3 separate regions of the Homo sapiens genome follow, and regions 2 and 3 are each linked to region 1. The links are contacts of gene promoters, found by promoter capture Hi-C in blood cells and fetal thymus (Javierre and others, 2016). All regions are on one chromosome and are shown on one strand. Each heading gives the region's core, a stretch centred on a gene start or on the middle of the fragment in contact. The rest is flanking DNA. Distances are from core to core; before and after follow the strand shown. Region 1 holds the start of MATN3 (matrilin 3). Region 2 overlaps LOC105373454 (a long non-coding RNA gene). Region 3 overlaps LOC105373454 (a long non-coding RNA gene).

What was found. The method cuts DNA at HindIII sites, captures the fragments that hold promoters and counts their contacts. A CHiCAGO score of 5 or more calls a contact.
Region 2: a contact is called between a fragment that was not itself captured here and the fragment with the promoter of MATN3 in region 1, in 6 of 17 cell types (naive CD8 T cells, total CD4 T cells, fetal thymus and 3 more). The highest score is 6.9, in naive CD8 T cells.
Region 3: a fragment that was not itself captured here is called in contact with the fragment with the promoter of MATN3 in region 1 in 8 of 17 cell types (non-activated CD4 T cells, total CD8 T cells, naive B cells and 5 more); the score reaches 7.8 in non-activated CD4 T cells.

The regions. Positions count from the first base shown.
Region 1 is chr2:20,010,542-20,014,455 of GRCh38, reverse strand. MATN3 (matrilin 3) reads left to right here and starts at 1,788. Exons shown (of 8, transcript NM_002381.5): 1 at 1,788-2,047. The coding sequence starts at 1,825. RefSeq lists an enhancer at 2,072-2,684. The HindIII fragment of the contact is 3,809 bases long and covers 1-3,258 here.
Region 2 is chr2:18,510,146-18,514,059 of GRCh38, reverse strand. The region is part of intron 6 of LOC105373454 (a long non-coding RNA gene); the gene reads right to left. Among named protein-coding and RNA genes, the nearest start is that of RDH14, 49 kb to the left of the region's middle. The HindIII fragment of the contact is 1,229 bases long and covers 1,313-2,541 here.
Region 3 is chr2:18,531,821-18,535,734 of GRCh38, reverse strand. It overlaps LOC105373454 (a long non-coding RNA gene), which reads right to left. Exons shown (of 8, transcript XR_001739302.1): 8 at 343-3,914. Among named protein-coding and RNA genes, the nearest start is that of RDH14, 27 kb to the left of the region's middle. The HindIII fragment of the contact is 3,010 bases long and covers 524-3,533 here.

The DNA of each region.
Region 1 (3,914 bases), core at 539-3,038:
TCTCCTGCTCTTGGGCCTTCAGGCTTGGACTGGATTACACCACTGGCTTTCCTGGGCCCCCAGCTTGCAGACAGCAGACTGTGGGACTTCTCAGCCTTCATAATCGCATGAACCAATCCCTCATAATCTCAATTACTCCCCCCACCCTCTCTCTATATGTATGTGTATATAAAATTTATTGGTTTTGTTTCTCTCAAGAACCCTGACTAATGTAGGGTTCAAAGGCTTTGGGGATCATTCTAAAAGCAAGACGAAAGACAAATGTCCACCAGAGCTTGCAAATACTGTATTTATCAATCCCTCCTCTTCTTGGCATAGTTTCTTTCAAACTTCTTAGTGTCCTCTTCCCATTATTACAAACTTCTCGTTTCTTCTAAGGTCCTTCTAAATTGGTGAGTTCTCAGTGGGAGTTGAGTGACCTTTTCCCTCAGTGTGACTATCACTGCCCAATGTCATTGATACATTATACAACTCCCCATCCCCACTTCCCCTCAGCTCCTGTTAACCACCATTCTTTCTGTCTCTATGAATTTGACTACTCTAGATTCCCCATGTAAATGGAATCATACAGTATTTGTCTTTTTGTGACTAGCTTATTTCACTTAACATAATACTCTCAAGGTTCATCCATTTTGTAGCATCTGCCAAAATTTCCTCCCTTTTAAGGCTGAACAGTATTCCATTGTACGTAGATACTGCATTTTGCTTTTCCATTCACACAAAGAGAGACACTTGGGTTGTTTCCGCCTCTTGGCTATTGTGTATAATGCTGCTACCAGCATGGGGTACAAATATGAGAAGTGAGGTTTAGGATCGTGTGAGGAGGATCACTTGTAGAGGGAAAATAGTGAAATAGGACGACCAGATAGGCTCTGTTGGAACTCGCGCCCATTGTTTTAAGACGCAGCTCAAATGTCACCTGGTTTTAGAAGTCTTCCTGGTCTCCGCAGGCAGTCAGTATCTCTTTCCTAAATCCACCACATTCCCGTAGACAGACACCACATTTATGCAAATCTCCTTCTCACAGACAGTGAGTTCCATGGGGGTCCCCTGGCAGCCTCCAGCCCTGTACCATGCTAACTCTTCCGGAGAGGAAATGGGGCCTCGGGAGAGCCTTTGAAGCCTGTGTTGGTACAGGCTGTCCTTCCAGCTAACGGGGCTCTCTGGGGAATGTATGTTTGACTTTCTATTCCCGGTAATATAAGTTCAAATGTTTGTGGATATTTGAAGCTCGGATGAAAGCGTTTCTATTCATGCCCCTAGAATCTGTGAGGCCTTTTCTTTCTTTTTTTTTTTTTAAACAAGAGCCCACAGCAAAACTTGGGTTACTTGGCTGAGGAAAGGAATGTAGAGCTAGGAGCAGGGTTTCATCTTCAGCCCCAGTCGGGCAAACCAGTGGCAGAAGGGAAAGCAGAGCCCAGGGGTCCCCATCCCGTACCTGGGGCGCAGGCCCCGCTGGGGTGGGAGGGAGAGTGGAGGGCCGGGCAGGCTGCAGCCGCGGATGGCTGCCCCCCCTGCCCCGGTGTTACTGGGAGGACGGAGGTTGCGACAGCAGCCGAGCCCACCCAGTTGCAGCCGGCTCGGGGCTTAGGGCAGGGGCGGGAGGTGACCACCGCGCCGCTGGCCGCCTCGCCCAGACATTCCGTTTCTGCCGCTGGAATGCGCGGACAAGGCTCCTTGTTGGCCTTGGGCGGGGTTCGCCGGGCCGGCCTGGCGCTCGAGGCCCCGGGGCGGGGCGGGGCCCGAGGCCGCGGGACCTTTAAATCCGAGCCTCGCGTGGGCTCCTGGCCCCCGACGGACACCACCAGGCCCACGGAGCCCACCATGCCGCGCCCGGCCCCCGCGCGCCGCCTCCCGGGACTCCTCCTGCTGCTCTGGCCGCTGCTGCTGCTGCCCTCCGCCGCCCCCGACCCCGTGGCCCGCCCGGGCTTCCGGAGGCTGGAGACCCGAGGTCCCGGGGGCAGCCCTGGACGCCGCCCCTCTCCTGCGGCTCCCGACGGCGCGCCCGCTTCCGGGACCAGCGAGCCTGGCCGCGCCCGCGGTGCAGGTACAGGCGGGCGGCGGGAGGGACGCGTGAGCATCGAACGAGGAGAAGCCCAGGGCATCCACCAAGCGCGCTTCATCCCGGCCTCAGGCCGACCGTGGTGCGGGGGAAAGAGGCCCCTCCCGGATGAATCCTGTGGGGGAAACTGAGGTCCAGAGAAGGGGAGGGAGATGCCCAATATCACTCATGTGTCCAGGCTAGAGATGTGGGTCTCCTGAAGCTCTCACTCCCCTGTGATTCGGCCAGGAGCACAGGGCAGCTGGGGAGCGCAGGGGCTGCTGCCCAGCGGCTGCTGCTAAGCTCCGTCCCAGTCCTGACCTCTCCATTCAGTGAGCAAACCCTTCCTGAGACTCTGCTGTTAGTTCTCTTGGAATCTCTCCATCTCCATCCAATATCAGGGCGTGATCTTTCCTCCCCTCCCACAGTCCTCAGGCTGCCTCAGACTGGAAGGTAAGGGATGCGGGTGTGAGACCAGGAGGAGATCCGAGGAGCCGTAGGATACCCCAGGATCAAGACACTCTGGGTCTTTGGCGAACAATTCTATTTCTCTTTTTGGTCAGCAATTGATTCCTGAAGCAGAGCAAAGCTCATAGTGCAGCGAAGCGGGCAGGTCGTCTGACACAGCCCCTGACAGCACATGAAGGGAAACTGAGGCATATCAAGTTGAAGGGACTCTGTGAATCAGTATCAGAGGCCACAATAAAATTCAGGGCTCCGAAATCCCAAGCAAGGTCTCTTTCCACTGCCCCAGCCTACCAACCTCTTAATATGGTTTACATAAGATTGTATCTTCATTTCCAAAAAGCGCAGCTTCAGTCTTGCTAAAAAGAGTCTGTGCCAGGCCATTTCTGGGTATGCAGTCTCATTTGGCCAGCCACGCTGCATGCCTCAGGCTGATTTCAATTGTCTATCCCCTTCTGCATCTTTCTGGATAAGCTGAGAAGGAGCTCAAGGGACTCTTTCCTGACTCAAATACTCAGTCCCCGTATTTGAAGTGGCAGATTTGAAATGGCAAAAGCATTGCTGCTAAGGCAGGAGGTACCGGGGTCCACAGGGCTAGATTCAGCTGGTGGCTGGTTGCTCCAGGCCGGGAATTGAGGGAAAGCCTTTCTTCTGGAAGTTAATCTTACTCTAGTCCTGACCTGCCTCCCTCTGGGATGGGACTGGAAGAGGAAGGAGAGATTCAGCACCAGGTGGCCATGTCCCCCTAAGCTTTACTGGTCTTTCATTACCTAGAGTCCGAACCTGATCATGAATGATAACCCATTAATAAATGCGAGATTCCACCCTGTTCCAAATTATCTCCTTTTAGCAACCAGAAATTGCTAAGCTTCGCTATGGATTTTTATTTCTAGCAGGACTGTAAGGACTCAGTGGTATTATGAGTATGGGAACATTTTAGGAGATTCAGATTCTTTCTTTGTTCTTGGGAATCAAATTGCTGCTATTTAGTAAATGGGAGTGAGATTCAAAAACAACTAATGATTGATGCGGAGTACCAGTCAGGAAGGAACCAGATGTTCACAGAATTTTCTGCCACCATGGTCAAGCCTCAGGTATTAGTTTTCTATGGCCACTGTAACAAATTACTGTGAATTTAGTGCCTTAAGACAACACACATTTATTACCTGAGAGTTCTGTGGGTCAGAAGTCTGACCCTGGTCTCACTGGGCTAAGATGAAGGTGTCGGCAGGGCTGTGTTCCTTTTGGGAGGCTCTAGGGGAGACTGCATTTCCCTTCCCTTTCCACCGCATGAAGGCTGCTGAGTTCCTTGGCTTATGGCCTTTTTCTTCCATTTTCAGAGCCAGCTAAAGCAGGTTGAGGCCTTCTCCCATTGAGTTACTCACATTTCTTTCATCTGCCTCCCTCT
Region 2 (3,914 bases), core at 678-3,177, 1.5 Mb after region 1:
CAAGCTAAGGCTAAGGTAAAATAATTTCCTAATTAATTCTTTAGAAAATTGTACTAATAGCGTAAATGATTAGAGAGGATGAGAATGACCAGTGGTGGTGGTGGTGGTGGTGGTGGTGGTGGAGGAGTAGGAAAAGGTGGGGCAGGAAAAGCAGGTGATTTAGACACTGGAATCTTATCACTTGGAACTTTTTGGATTGCAATTGCATAGCTACGTTCACAGAAATTGGAGTAATAGCAATACTATGGGGACACAGGTTTTGGTACCTAGCAAGAACCAGATCCTGGGATTTGATCTAGCTCGTCGCATTTAATTTTTATAGCCTCACATCTGTGTGTGAAGGAGGCATTTATTATTATTCCCATATAACAAATAATTGTCATTTAGTTGTGGAATCCATTTTAACAGGCCAGAATGTATCAAGAGCCCTCTGAATATCTGAAATAGAACAACAATCAGACACAGAAAGACAAATACCACATGACCTCACTTATATGTGAAATCTAAAAAAAAAAAAAATCAAATTCACAGACGTAGAGAGTAGAAAGGTGGTTAGCAGAATCTGGGGAGGGGTGGGTTGGGAAAACAGAGATATTGGTCAGAGGGTACAAGTTTCAGTTAGACAGGAAGAATAAGTTTACAGATCTATTGTACAGCATGGTGACTATAGTTAACAAAATGCATTATTGGTCAACTGATGGTCACAGTCAATTAATAGTGCATCATGTGTATATATCAGGAGAAAAATAGATGCAGGGCACATAGTTAATATAATCTAATATCATAAACATATTTGTGTATATATATGTGTGTATTTATATACACATATGTGTGTATATGTATTTATATAACCCACATACATATTCAAACATGTGTCTATAAAATACCAAAACAACACTAGTAAAATAATGATTGGGTGTTTAATAATTTTCTCATTCATTTAATTTTATAAATTCACAAATAAATTTGTAGTTTTTATTATCATAAAAATTATAAAGCATGTAATCCCATCACTTTGGGAGGCCAAGGTGGGCCAATCACGAGGTCAAAAGATGGAGACCATCCTGGCCAACATGGTGAAACCCTGTCTCTACTAAAAATACAAAAATTAGCTGGGCGTGGTGGTGTGCGCCTGTAGTCCCAGCTGCTCGGGAGGCTGAGGCAGGAGAATCGCTTGAACCCAGGAGGCGGAGGTTGTAGTGAGCTGAGATCACACCACTGCACTCCAGCCTGGCAACAGAGTGAGGCTCTCTCTAAAAATAATAATAATAATAAATAGTAAAACTTATCTCACAAATGAATGACATAAGCTTCTTTCTGATACTGATTGTTAGAAATCCTGAAATCTATGTAAAACAGCCATCCTTTCCTCCAAGACCCCACGTGTCACTGGAGCCACAATATTGAGCTTACTCTAACATAGCTAAGATGTCAAGAAAGAAGACAATTTCAGCTTAAGTAGTGTGGCTGGTTAGGTTTTTTGAGTAAGTTCTCCTTCTGAAAATATCTGAAATGCTATCCAAAATATATTTTTATATAATAAACACAGAAGAGCTTATAATATAGTAAGAAATTATCTGGTCAAAATCTATGTAAAGGCAGGAAACCAGAGATGTAAGGGGACACTCATGGCCACATTTTCCTGAGAGTATTGGGCAAATCAGATTAAAATACAGAGTGTGGAAGCCACACACCAAAGGCCACGCTTTCCCAGGAGGAGAATCCGCTAAACAACATATGCCTGTAAAGCTGGGATCCAACCAAAAATAAATCTGTTTTGCCTAATACACCACAATAAACCTGTGTCTCTCCTTTCCTGCAGGGGCCACATAGAAATCTGCCTTGGTACTGAGAAAATAGTCTCTGAGAAGTTGTCACCACAAATTATCCCTAACACATACTGAGAGTCCAAATTCACAATAATTGTTAAAAATAATCTTCAGACCAGGCACGGTGGCTCATGCCTGTAATCCCAGCACTTTGGGAGGCCGAGGCGGGTGGATCAGGAGGTCAGGAGTTCGAGACCAGCCTGGCCAACATGGTGAAACTCCATCTCTACTAAAAATACAAAAAAATAGGAAGGCATGGTGGCAGGTGTCTGTAATCCCAGCTACTTGGGAGGCGGAGGCAGGAGAATTGCTTGAACCCGAGAGGCAGAGGTTGCAGTGAGCTGAGATCATTCCACTGCACTCTAGCATGGGCGACAGAGCAAGACTCCGTCTTGGGGAAACAAAAATAAAAAAATAAAAAATAAATCTTCAAACTGCGCAGATTCAAATTGCAGAGGCAAATATCAGTACTCTCTGGAGGAATGCACTATCATTCTATCCTTGAAGAAGGCCCAGAAATAATTTTCCAAATAAACGCAGCAGCTCACAGTCCAAAAAGAACAAGGAGACAATAAACCATAAGTAAGAAGCAGCAAACAAACAAACAAAGGCAACAGGCAAAGTTTTGCAAAGACCTAAGATACTAGAATTGTCAGACACAGTTTAATAAATAATTAACTATATTGTGTTTAAATACATTAAAAGGAAAGCTTTAAAAATCTGTGGAGTGGAAATCCACAAAAAATGACAGCAGATTTGACAAAAATTAGAAATTTTTCAAATAAAGAGACGATTAAAATTAAAAACTCAATGATCAGTTTTAACCATAGATTAGAGACAGCTAAAAAATAATTGGTAAATTGTAAAACAGATTCAGAATAAATCATCCAGATTATAACATAAACAAAGAGACCTATAATGTGATAGAGAAGTTATGAGACATAAAACATTAAGTGAAATGGTCTTAGCATATTTTCAGACTCCCAGAAGGAGGGCATAGATAACATGTTTAAAAAGAAATATCTGAAGATATAACAGTTTAGAAATTTCCAGAAATGGCAAAAGACATTAATTTAGAGACCCAAGGAATTCAATGAATCAGAAACAGAAAAAAATTAAAGAAAAGCCAAGTTAAACACATTATAGGAAAACTGGTGAACACCCCAGAGATAAAAAGCTGAAGCTTGGTGGTGTTGGTGGTGGTAATGGCAGGGCACTGAAGGGAAGCGTTGTCTTTAAGGCAATGATAGACGAACAGCTGACTTTTGAACTGCAGCAATTGAATCCAAAGAAATGGAATGATATCTTTATTTTGTGTGTTTGTGTGTGATGGGTGCTGTGAGGGGTACTGCTGTCCTCAAATTCTCTATCCAGAAAACACATCTCTCAGGAATGGGGGCAAAACTAAAACATTTTCAGGTAAATTAAACTATATATTTCTTAGCAGCTGACTCTCACTAAAAGAAATTCTGAAAAAAAAAATTTCAGGCAGAAGAAAACTGATGCCAGATTGAAGGTCTGAGCCATAGGATGGAATAAAAACAGAGAAAGTGGGAATATGTGAATATCTAACAACATCTGACTCTATTCAGATTGCTGTCACAAATTACCATAAAGTAGGTGGCTTGTAAACAATAGAAATTCATTTCTCACAGTTCTAGAGGGTGGGAAGTGCAAAATCAAGGCAGCACCAAATTTGGTGTCTGGGGAGGGCTCACTCTGTATTTCATACTTGGTGCTTTCCTGCTGTATCCTTACATAGCAGAAGGGGCTAGCTAGCTCTCTGGGGTATCTTTTTGTAAGGGCAGTAATCCCATTCACGAAGGCAGAGGTTTCATGAGCTAATCACCTCCCAAGAACTTCTAATACCTCCTTCTAACACTGTCACATTGGGCTTTCGATTTCAACATATTAATTTTGGGAGGGACACAAACATTCAGTCCATAGCAAGTACTGCCTATATAAACATTAAGATAATGTCTATGGGCATACAAGACAAAACTAAACATGTAAGTTAGAAAGCGGGTAACTAGAGCCAATGCAATCTAAAATTATTACACTGTGCAGAAAGGGTAAAAATGTTGA
Region 3 (3,914 bases), core at 779-3,278, 1.5 Mb after region 1:
TGAAATTATCTATAAGTGTAAGTGTCTTTTATATTCTAGATATGTACTGAGTGCTAGTGATATATTGATTAATAAGACTGATTGGCCAGGTGTGGCGGCTCATGCCTATAATCCCAGCACACTGGGAGGCCAAGGTGGGTGGATCTCTTGAGGTCAGGAGTTCGAGACCAGCCTGGCCAACATAGTGAAACCCCATCTCTACTAAAAGTACAAAATAGCCAGGCGTGGTGGTGGGCACCTGTATTCCCAGCTACTCGAGAGGCTGAGGCAGGAGAATCGCTTGAACCCAAGAGGCAGAGGTTGCAGTGAACTGAGATTGCGCCACTGCACTCCAGCCTGGGCAACAGAGCGAGACTCTGTCTCAAATAAAAAAAAAAAATGACTGATTTTTTTTCCCCATCAAAGTACTCACAGTCTAGCAGATGTAGATAAACATACACATGCACAAAAAAGCTATAATGCAAAATGGTAGAGTCTATGGTAAACAGCTCAAAGTATAACTAAACTTGGTTCTTGGGAAGCTTTGGATAAGCATGTAATGTTGAGTTGGCCTGTGAAGCACGGGATCCTTGTGGGAGAAGGGGAAGAGATGTGTTGCAGGCTGTAGAAAAACATATGAGGAGGCACAGAGACGTGGCCTTGGTGTGGCAGGAGACTGAAGACGACAGAGGACCCTGGAGAGATGGATGAAATCAATATCGCAAAAGGTCTGAAGGGCATGTGGAGGAATGTAAAGGGGACCTAGACTTTTAGACAGTAGGGCAGATCAGAGCTTTCTTAGCATATGAATGGCACAGTTGGCACTGATTTCAGATAGATTACAATCACAAGGATAGGGTATATTAAAGTGGGGACGGTGGTGACAGACCAGCTAGTTAGGAGATTGGTACTCTGATCTAAGAAAGAGCTAGTCAGGGTTTCTGCCAGCCTCACAAAAATTGAGAGAAGTGATAGCTACTCTAGGAGAAGAATTGACAGCTCAGGAAATTTACCAGATGTGGGAAGTCAGTAAGAGAGTAGAGGCTAGAAAGATTTTAAATGGGATTAAAATAACAAAACTGATTCTTGGCCTTTGGCACGTAGGCATCCCCTTGGCACCTGGCCCACCCTGAAACAGGGCAGAAGAAACTCCAATAACCTCAGCCTTCTCTGGAAGACTTAATTTTCCCAGACCAGTCTGAGGAGAGACTAGAAAGTGACCACTGGTGCCAAAGGAAGGATCTATCTAGGCCTGAGGCAGCACAATGATTTCTCTTCATTCACTCATCTTGTTAATCCTTTCTTAATCAAACATTTATTAAGCAGCTTCCATCTGACCTCAAGTAACTTGGTGGAGGAAGTAGGAAAGTAGATTTTGTGGGATGAATTTTGTCCCTCTAAATTCATATGTTGAATCCCTAACCCTCACCTTAGAATGTGACTGCATTTGGAAATAAAGCCTTTAAAGAGGTAAATAAGTTAAAATGAAGCCATTAGGGTGGGCCCTCATGTAATCTGACTCATGTCTTTCTAAGAAAAGGACATTTAGACACACACAGAGATACCAGGGATGCACACAAAGAGGAAAGGCCAAGTGAAGACAGGGTGAAGCCGTGGAGAGAAGCCTCGGAAGGAACCGTCACTGTCGACACCTTGATCTTGGACTTCCAGCCTCTGGAACCATGAGAAAATACATTTCTATTAAGCCCCCCAGACTGTGCTATTTTGTTATGGCATTTCTAGCAAATGAACACAATGGATGACTACAATTTGTAGTGATGAATTTGATACAGTTGAAACCTGGTACAATGGGGCACAAAGGGAATCGTGATCAATTCAGCCCATGAGATCTAGGGGAGCAAGAAGTCCTCAAATGAGGTTCTGAAGGATGAGCAGGAATTTGCCAAGCAAAAATTGAAGGATGCCATCCTAGGCAGAGGAATTTCTGCTTTTGGCTCCGCAGTTTGTCGCTCCATATTAGTCCTGTCCATTCCCAGGGTCTGTTTGCCTCAGCTCTCTTCCAGCTAGACCCTATTTTCAAAAAGAGCACGAGCTCTGTTCTTTCTCGAGGCAACTCTCTGCTTTGCCTGATGCTGCTTGGCTACATCCCGAGCAAGCTGCCTTCAAGAGTTTGTAAAATCACTGCTGACAGCCACAGCCCACATGGCCCTGCCAGCACAGGCTCCTCCAAATGGCCCTTCATCCAGAGAGCATTGACCTAGTCTCATGGATTGGCCCTGCTTGAAACGCATGCCTTTTTGTGCACCACCATGACCAGGGAAATGGTGGTGTTCCCTGATTGCCAGGGCAGCCGGGGTGACCATAGCAACTCTGTGATTGCTGCTATCAGAACCACATGAAATGGGTTTAGGAAAGAGGAGCTCTCTTATCAAATGTAGAAGGAATACCAGGTAGACAAAAGCAGCAGCCGTTCATTGCAGTATTATTTTTACTGCCATTTAGAGAAGAGAAAACGGAGGCTTGGAGAAGAAGTGGCTTGTGAGCATTAAACATTCATTCATTAATTCAGCCATAAGTTATTAAGCACGTACTATATGTTAAGCACCATGCTAGGTCCTTGGAATCTATTAATGACTGAAACAAACAAACACTTCTAGTTTTATGTAGATTGAACTAGAGGGGAAAGTGGCATCCAAAAAAAATAAAATTTACAAATCAATTAATTGTATACCAAGAAGGTGATCAGGGAAAAAAATCAGGGAAGGAAAAGGGGTGCAGACAGAGATAGTAATAATTTCACAGGGTGAGTCTCATTAAGAAGTTTATATGTAGGCAGAGACATAAAGGAGGTGAACCCATTGGTTAGGCCAAGGAAGAAGCAATACAAGGGCCATCAAGTAGGAGCTGCGTCTGGCATTGTTGGAGGACAAGTAGCCAGGAGGACAATGTGGCTAGAGAAAAGTGAACAAGGTTAGCATATGAGTCAGGGTGATTGGAGCTTAACAGTTTTCACCTTAGGTGGCTTGGGTTTCTACTAAGAACTTAAAAGGACCTCAGGCCAGTGCTTCCAAGGACGTAGGCTGCCATTAAGGGAAGTGGGGAGCCATCGCAGGATTTTGAGCAGATCAGTACTTTGATCTGATTCAGAAGGATCACTCTGACTGCAGGGGTGAGAATGGACTTCTCCGTATTTTCAGTAGGAGAAGAAAGCACACAGCTTAAATCCAGCCCTGGCTTTCTCTGACTCCAGAATCTCAGCACTTATCCTGTGGTGTACAGGGAGGGCCTGGAGCCCTTGAGTGTGGAAACTTTTAGACAGCGAGACCCTGAGGACTTAGCAAGGCCTGTGTCCTGATAACCCCCATCTTCCTACCTCCAACCAGGTAGAGGGCATTTCCTAACCAGTATTTCATACCTAGAGAATCTTTCGAAAAGTCTCCTTGCCGACCCCCATCTCTGTGTCAATGAAGAGATTTTATGGGCTTGTTTAAGAACCCCATTTGCTTTTTATACAGATTTTTTTTCCCAGTCTCTTTTATACCCAAGTGATATTTTTAAATTAATTTCATTGAAAAAGATATAATTATGAAGCTTGCTTATATAAACTGTACATGCAAAGATTCTCCAAGCCTCTCCTTCAATGTAGAGCTCTTTTGTGGGCAAATGAAGCCTCCTTCTGGATTATATTTCTACGTCCAGGTTTGCATAATTATTATTGCTAAAAATGTATCCCTTTTCTTCAGGCCTAGCTCTCTAACCTTAGCAGGCAGGATGCTCCCAGAATTGGGCCGGCCCTCTGCAGAGGCCTGGATCTGAGGGAGGAGAGGTGGGCCAGGCAGAGGTAAGCAGGGAGAAGAAGGGCATCCCAGCTCTCTGAGGACTGACTGACCATTAGCGTTACCTTGGCTGAGTGGGGCTGAGCAGGGTATCTTCCTCTCTTCTGACACTGCATCACCAGCACCCTGTGAGGGAAG